3 separate regions of the Homo sapiens genome follow, and all the other regions are linked to region 1. The links are contacts of gene promoters, found by promoter capture Hi-C in blood cells and fetal thymus (Javierre and others, 2016). All regions are on one chromosome and are shown on one strand. Each heading gives the region's core, a stretch centred on a gene start or on the middle of the fragment in contact. The rest is flanking DNA. Distances are from core to core; before and after follow the strand shown.

What was found. Contacts are between HindIII fragments. The CHiCAGO score rates a contact against its expected background, and 5 or more counts as called.
Region 2: the fragment with the promoter of ABCF3 here is called in contact with the fragment with the promoter of PARL in region 1 in 17 of 17 cell types (total B cells, M1 macrophages, naive CD8 T cells and 14 more); the score reaches 25.3 in total B cells.
Region 3: a fragment that was not itself captured here is called in contact with the fragment with the promoter of PARL in region 1 in 1 of 17 cell types (M2 macrophages); the score reaches 5.4 in M2 macrophages.

The regions. Positions count from the first base shown.
Region 1 is chr3:183,883,552-183,886,251 of GRCh38, reverse strand. It overlaps PARL (presenilin associated rhomboid like), which reads left to right and starts at 1,372. Exons shown (of 10, transcript NM_018622.7): 1 at 1,372-1,530. The coding sequence starts at 1,406. RefSeq lists enhancers at 923-1,152, 1,193-1,242 and silencers at 1,192-1,342, 1,453-1,612. The HindIII fragment of the contact is 9,960 bases long and covers 1-2,700 here.
Region 2 is chr3:184,184,894-184,187,607 of GRCh38, reverse strand. ABCF3 (ATP binding cassette subfamily F member 3) reads right to left here and starts at 1,409. Exons shown (of 21, transcript NM_018358.3): 1 at 1,328-1,409; 2 at 954-1,101; 3 at 733-812; 4 at 165-211. The coding sequence starts at 1,400. RefSeq lists enhancers at 1,105-1,424, 1,902-2,616. The HindIII fragment of the contact is 6,180 bases long and covers 1-2,714 here.
Region 3 is chr3:184,207,758-184,210,658 of GRCh38, reverse strand. No RefSeq gene overlaps it. Among named protein-coding and RNA genes, the nearest start is that of VWA5B2, 20 kb to the left of the region's middle. The HindIII fragment of the contact is 5,192 bases long and covers 1-2,901 here.

The sequences.
Region 1 (2,700 bases), core at 123-2,622:
GTATCCCCAGGTTTAACATATCACCTGACACACTGTAGGTGCTTAATAAGAGCTTATGGAATGAATGAAGTGCTATTGCAGAGATAAGCATAAAGCGGTATGTGAGTACAAAGGAAGGGAATCTAAATTGGAGTGGAGGTCTGGGAAAGGCCTCCTGGAAGAGGTGACACTTGAGGCTGACCTGAAGGACAAGTCGGTTAGATGTTTCAAGTGGTGAGAACGGTAGCATGAATGCTCAGCAGTGGGAACGCGGATGGTGCCTTTGAGTAATGGCCAATGACTGTATGGCTGCAGCTAGGGTCGGGGGGAATGGAATGGCAGGGAATCAAGCTAACTGACAGGTAGTTGAGGGATGGATTATGAAAAAGTGAAAGCCCGCTTTTCATTTCAGGCTTGGATTTTGTGTTTATTTACTTATTTATTTATGAGAAAGGGTCTCACTCTGTTGCCCAGGCTGGCACGATATCGGCTCACTGCAACCTCCCGAGTTCAAGTGATTCTCCCACCTCAGCCTCTCGAGTAGCTGGGATTACAGGTTTGCGCCACCACGCCCAGCTAATTTTTGTATTTGTATTTGTAATTTTTTTGAGACGGATCTCGCTCTGTCACCTAGGCTGGAGTGCAGTGGTCCAATCTCGGCTCACTGCAACCTCCGCCTCCCAGGTTCAAGCAATACTCCTGCCTCAGCCAACTGAGTAGCTGGGATTACAGGCCCCTGCCACCATGCCCGGCTAATTTTTGTATTTTTAGTAGAGACGGGGTTTCACCATGTTGGCCGGGCTGGTATCGAACTCCTGACCTCAGGTGATCCGCCGGCCTCGGCCTCCCAAAGTGCTGGGATTAAAGGGGTGAGCCACCCCGCCCGATAGGCTTGGACTTTGTTAAAGGCATACAGAATAACACGAAGTGGTGAGATGCAGAAAAAAGTAGTAATTTAAGAAAACTTGGCTTGCCACGTTGGTTCCTCTAGGGACCAGCCCTGCAACTCCGGGCAAGTCCTATCCCCTCTGACCAGAGGCAAAGTGAAACAGTGATGACATCTACCTCTAGCAGTGCTGTGACGATTAAATGCGATCTTAGGCAAAGCGCCTGGTATGTGCCGTTACTCGAAAAAATGACAGTTGTCCCTCTTCGCTCTGGCCCCATCCTCCTCATCTGCAAATGCCGGGAGGCCGGGCCACTCTCGCAGGTCGCTCCCGGAGCCAGCTGAGCAGTGGGAGGGGAAGCGGTGGGACAGAAGGGCGCCAGCCAGTCGTCCGGGCACCGTGGCTGGTTCGGCTGCCGCTCAGCCGCGCGGGGGCGCTCTAGACTGCTCCTCGTGCTCTATGGTGTTGCCTTCGCCCCGGAAGTAGTTGCGCAGCTGGGGTTGGTAAGGTCGGGCCATGGTGGGGCAGAGGTTGGGAAGATGGCGTGGCGAGGCTGGGCGCAGAGAGGCTGGGGCTGCGGCCAGGCGTGGGGTGCGTCGGTGGGCGGCCGCAGCTGCGAGGAGCTCACTGCGGTCCTAACCCCGCCGCAGCTCCTCGGACGCAGGTAATAGCCGCCGCGCTCTGGTCTTCTCGCCTCTTGGTCCCTGAGCTCTGGCCGTGTATCCTCGGGGGCGGAGGCCGTCTGGGCCTCTTGTGCTGGCCCCAGCTCACCCCCTTCACCTTACCTGCCCCTTCTCTCTCCTCTCTCGCCTCCGTCCAGTCCTCGCTTCTCGCTCCCCTTGCCCAGCCCAGCCCCCCGCGAGCCTGCGCTTTCTCCTTTCCCATTGGGAAGGACGTGACTGGAAGGGGAACTAAGCTGAGGGTTCATTGCGTGCCACACTTCATAATCGCGAGTGGAAACTGTTGAGCCAGTTTCTGAAGTGAAGAAGTTAGTACAGCTGGCAGAATGGCGGTTTTTATTCTTTTTCCATCTAATTATAAAGGTTGTGTTCCATTACAACCAGTCGCCTTCTTTAGCTTGTGATCTAAGGGAGGACGAAGTCTGATGGAAGGTATCACTTTGTGTCTGGCAAAGTCGTAGGAGAGGCTTTATTGTTGAATTGAGACAGTGGAAGATTTCGTTTCCGGTTGATTTGGAAAGAAAACTGCCGAACCTTCCGAGTAGAAGTGTGAAGCGTATGGTTGATCAGTATTGCTGATTTTTGCATCACAGTAATTCATTTCTAATTTGAGAGAGAAGAGAGAAATTCCTCACCTGTTTAAGAATCTGATGTGCATTTGGCTTTGAAAATTTTCCTCCTCTTTTGTTCAAAACTTCATTCCTTCCAATTTCTGACTTGGTTAGATGGGTGCCTCGAATCCACCTGATTGCTGATAAGAAACATTGTTTATCAACACGTGGGATAGTCAGTGGTAAATAATCGAGGCTCTAATGTGGCGGAGCCATTGCCTAATCTCAAGGATCACCTGAAGAGTTTGTATGGATTTTATGTCCCAGGCCTCACCCCAGTCCTCCCAAATCACAATCAGGAGAGGGGTGGGTGGAGTGGAAGAACCTATATGTCCGACAAGCATTCCAGGTGAATTTTATCAGGGACTTGTGAAAACTTTACATACATTGTATCTTCATACACTAACATAGATCTGTCAGGCACTAATCTTAAACTCCTGGGGAGGTGGAAAATGAGGACAGATGGAGGTGGTAATCCCATTTGAGATTGCATGGTTTAAGGGGGAAAGAAAAGATTAATACTGGCCGGGCGTGGTGGCTCAC
Region 2 (2,714 bases), core at 160-2,659, 300 kb before region 1:
AAGAGAGAACATCTCGAGTAAACCCTCTTAACTTACCCATGATGAACAGACTCAAAGGCTCAGGAAAAGACATAGTCAGAAATCCCCCCAAAAGATACTCCAATTAGACAGTCAACTCCCAACCCCATCACAGACAGTCCCCTCCCTTGCTTCCTCCTCCTCACCGAGGACTGTTCCCTCTTTAGCAGTCCTGGAAGTTTGGTTCCACAGTCTGTAAGCGATAAGAAAAGCAGTCACCTTCTCCCTGAGGGAAGGGAAACTAACATTTTGAGTGACTAATAGGAACCAGGCACAGACACAGATGTTTTCTACAAAACCTTATAATACTGCAGATAGATGGCTATTATCTTCCCTGCACTAAAAACAAAACAAAACAAAACAAAACAAAACTCACGTAGAAGGATACAGAGGCATAGACAAGGCTGGGGACAGATAACCAACTCTTACAAGATCATGCAGCTGGTTAGCAAGTTGCAAAACTGGGGGTGAAAGCAAGTCTGTCCAGCTCCAGGCTCTTATGCTTCCTATCCTACCCAAGAGCTTGGAGGGAGAACCCTCCAACCTCCTCCCCACCCCCATCATGGGCTCTTCTGCCCTCGGTAAAGACATCAACTAGCTCCTACAACCTTGTCCTGTGGAAAAGACGTAGGAGCCCTAAGCTGCAGGCAGCAGATGGTTGGGGGCGGAGAAAAGCACAGGGGGGCAGTTAGTTCAACCTCCCCTCACTCTCACCGTAGTTCTCCGTTATCTTTGACAACTGGATAGGGGCGTCCAGTAGCACCTGGCTATTTCCCTGGCTTTGTGGCTCAGCCCTATGTGGGTAGGGATAGAAAGCGCAGAGTTAGGAGTTGAGGGAAAAGCTCTATGGCCATCAGATCTTCCTCCCCCACCTCTTGTCTCCGGACCGTTCGCCGTCCCTTCGCCCCCATCAACCCCTACTCCCTGGCACATACAGACGCAGAGTGTTGTACATGCGCTGGCACACGGCCCTGATGCCCGCGTCATCCTTGCTGTCCCCGGACACCTCTTGCAATAGTTCCCCTACAGCTTCCACCAGGTCATCCACAGACTCGAAGTCCGCGCTGCCGCTGTGCAAGACGCCTGGGCAGGGCGTGGTAGAACGAGGAAGGTATCGGGTAGGGTGGACACACAAGCAGTTTCAGACCCCAGACAGAGGCCCCAGTCCAGGCTCCAGACCCAACCAGCCCCCGGGACAAGAGGTCATGCAGAGGAGAGGCCTGGCAACAGTCCCGGGCACGACGCTCGCTTAGACTTTCCCCCGGCCTCCACTTCGGTCTCCCCAGCCGGCCGATTCAGTTCTGCTTACCGGTCACGTAGTCGAAGACTTGTCCGTCAATTTCGGGGAACTCGCTCCGCAGGATTTCGGCGCAAGTCGCCATGTTCCACTCAGGAACCCGTCCGCGCAGTCGCTGTGAGACCCCGGCCTAGGCCCGCCCCCCGCCCTGCCCCCGAAATCTCGCCCTTCCTTGCAAGGCGCATGTGTAGCGGTGACGCAGGAAAGGAGCGGAGTGCGCAGAGCCCGGTGGGCGGGGCGAGCGGGGCCTTGAGGAGAGGCGCCGAGTCTGCGCCGGAGCCGCGCTCTCTGCGCGTGCGCGACACCTTTTCCGCTGAAAGATTAGCCACATGTGCGGTTCTCGCTGCCTTCTGGGAGGTGGAGTTCCGGGAGCGAGGGGTGGGGCAAAGGCTGGGAGCTCAAGGTTTATCGGGGCCGCGAGGCACCCGTGGTCTGGCGGGTGGGAGCCTCCCAAGAGGCAGGCGGCTGATAAAGCACTTTGGCTTTGCCAGGTTTTATGCGCTCCCTCGAGGCGCGTCTGCTGCTGGTGCGTACCCAGTCAGGCCCATTTTGGAGCCTGCCCAGAGCTTTGCTGACTCACCCCGGTCCCTGACTCTCAGAAGCCCCCTGCTCAGTGCTTTGCTTTCGCGGGTCCCCAGACCCTACGGGCTTCTCAGCCTGGTGGCCAGCGCCACCCGCCTCCCCGCCGCGACCGCCTTTTCACTGTGTAATTCAGCCGACCTTTGTGAATTAAGCCCATTCAGTTCTTCCACCACCCCAGGGCACGACCAAATCCACCGCCAAAGGGCAAGAAAACCAGGACAACGTGGCCTGTATAAATTATTCCCTACCTACACCCTGAGCAGACTTCTCTGCACTCAATAAATGCCAATAAAAGGCTATTTCCTTTCACCGATTCCCTCGGGAAGTTAGGAATTTCCTCCAAAATGATGCTACTGCTTTATATTTAACGTGAATATTCCTCCAATTGGTCTCTAAAAGTGGCACCGAAAATTACATTATTACCCATTCATCCCTTTGGATTAAACATTGCCATCATGAGGCATCAATCCCGATATTGAACCATTTTACAGGAAATACAGGTAAAGAGGAATATGTTAAGTGACTTCATGGGGACAACAGGCAAATTCTGATGTGGTAAACTACAGAACTCTGGTTTCTTCCACAAAATTGCAAGACCTGAAGGGAAACATCAATTTTTAAAATTTGAGGAGCATTAACCAACCACAATGGACCTTATCTGGAAAAATTTGATAAGACACCTGGTTAAGTGAACACAAACTGGATGTGATATTAAGGAACTGGCCACGCATTGATCATAGTTGAAGCTGGGTGATGAGACATGGAGATTCATTATATTCTTTTTTTTTTTTTTTTTAATTTGAGAAGGAGTTTCGCT
Region 3 (2,901 bases), core at 288-2,787, 320 kb before region 1:
TCATGCCATTCTCCTGCCTCAGCCTCCCAAGTAGCTGGGCGTGGTGGCAGGCGCCTGTAGTCCCAGAACCAATAGCTTTTTTACCCCATGAACCATTTACAAGTAAGTAGCCAATCTGATGCCCTGTCACTCTTGAATACTTCAGTATATTTCATGCAAACATTCTCCTACATAACCACAGCACAACCATCAAAATCAAGACATTAACCTAGATATATCTCTACCATCAAATCCTCAAACTTCATTCCAGTTTTGTTTAGTGTCTCAATAAATTAAATTTAAAAAAATTGGCTGGGCGCAGTGGCTCATGCCTGTAATTCCAGTACTTTGGGAGGCCGAGGTGGGCAGATCACGAGGTCAAGAGATTGAGACCATCCTGGCCAACATGATGAAACCCCATCTCTACTAAAAATACAAAAATTAGCTGGGCATGGTGGCGGGTGCCTGTAGTCCCAGCTACTTGGGAGGCTGAGGCAGGAGAATCACTTGAGCCTGGGAGTCGGAGGTTGCAGTGAGCTGAGATCGCACCACTCCACTTCAGCCTGACGACAGAGCGAGACTAAAAAACAAAACAAAACAAAACAAAACAAAACAAATTGGCTGGGCCTGGGATTACACTCCTATAATCCCAACACTTTACACTTTGAGAGGCGGAGGCTGGCGGATCACCTGAGGTCAGGAGTTCAAGACCAGCCTGGCCAACATGGTGAAACCCTGTCTCTACTAAAAATGCAAAAATTAGCTGAGCATGGTGGTGCTTGAACCTGGGAGGTGGAGGTTGCAATGAGCTGAGATCTCACGATTGCACTTCAGCCTGGGTGACAGAGTGAGACTCTGTCTTAAAAAAAAAAAAAAATTCCTGGCTGGGCATTGTATCTCTCGCCTGTAATCCCAGCGCTCTGAGGCCAAAGTGGGAGGATCGCTTGAAGCCAGAAGTTCACGACCAGCCTGCACAGCAAACCATGACCTCCCACCATGCCTACAAAAATAAAATTAGCCCAGCACAGTGGTGAGTGCCAGTAGCCCTAGCTATTTGGGAGGCTGAGCTGGGAGGATTGCTTCAGCCCAAAAGTTTGAGGCTGCAGTGAGCTATAATTTCATGACTGAACTCCAGCCAGGGCAACAGAGTGAGACCCTGTCTCTTAAAAAACAAAAAAAGCCAGTGTAGATTACATGCTACATTTTGTTATATTTCTTTAATCTCTTCTTCACTCCAGAACAATTTATCTGTCTTTTCTTGACCTTGACATTTTGAAAGAGTACAGGATGTTTATTTTGTAGACCGTCCCTCAGTTTGGGCTTAGATTCAGGTTATGCAACTTTGGCAAGAATATCACAGAAGCAATGCTGTGTTCTTCTGACTGCCTCCTATCGGGTGGCACAAGATGCTGATTTATCCCGTTATTCATGATGTTCACTCGATTACTTGATTAAAGCGGTGTCTGCCAGGCTCCTTCATTGCAAAGTGACTCTTCCCCGCCCCCATAGTGAATTAATGTTTGGGGTGGAGATATGTTCAACATATGTATCTCATTTCTCATTAAATTTTTACTGTATTAATGTATTTATATATATCAGTATGAACCTGTGGTTTTCTACTTTATTCAGGGGTTATAATTCATTGCTATCATTATATACACATACATATATGTGTATATATACATATATACACATATATACGTATATATACATATATACACATATATATGTATATATACTTACATATATACATATATTGTATATATACATACATATATACACATATATGTATATATATACACACATATATATACACATACATATATACACACATATATATACATACATATATATACACATACATATATATATACATACATATATATATATATATATTTTTTTTTTTTTTTTTTTTTTTTTTGAGACAGAGCTTCACTCTGTTGCCTGGGCTGGAGTGCAGTGGCCCCATCTTGGCTCACTGCAAACTCCGCCTCCCAGGGTCAAATAGTTCTCCTGCCTTAGCCACTCAAGTAGCTGGGACTACTGGTGCACACCACCACGCCTGGCTAATTTTTGTATTTTTAGTAGAGACGGGGTTTCACCATGTCGGCCAGGCTGGTCTCAAACTCCTGACTTCAAGTGATCCGCCCACCTCGTCCTCCCAAAGTGCAGGGATTATAGGCATGAGCCACTACCCTCAGACTTATCATTATTTATGCTGATGCTCAAACAGTCCCTAATTTGAAGTGGGAGCACCTCGAGCTGACTTTTTTGTCTTTTTTTCTTTTCTTTTCTTTTCTTTTTTTTTTTTTTTGAGACAGGGAGTGCGGTGGCCCAATCAGAGCTCATTGCTGCCTCGAGCTCCCAGGCTCAATTGATCCTCCTACCTCAGTCTCCTGAGTAGCCAGGACTATAGGTGCACACCACCACAGCAGCTATTTTTTTTTTTTTTTTTTTTTTTTTTTTTTTGGTGACAGTTTCACTCTTGTTCCCCAGGCTGGAGTGCAATGGTGCGATCTTGGCTCACTGCAACCTCCGCCTCCCAGGTTCAAGCTATTCTCCCGCCTCAGCCTCCTGAGTAGCTGGGATTACAGGCATGCACCACCATGCCTGGCTAATTTTGTGTTTTTAGTAGAGACGGGGTTTCTTCATGTTGTTCAGCCTGGTCTCGAACTCCCGACCTCAGGTGATTCACCTGCCTCAGCCTCCCAAAGTGCTGGGATTACAGGCGTGAGCCACTGCACCCAGCCCACCAGCTAATTTTTGTATTTTTTGCAGAGACAGGGGTCTCAAACTCTTGGGCTCAAGAGATCTGCCCACCTTCGCCTCCCAAGGTGCTGGGATTATAGGCAAGAGCCACTGTGCCAGCCCTGTATCCTTTTTAGATGTCTCCATCATTGTTTCAGTGCTTCTTTGCTTTCT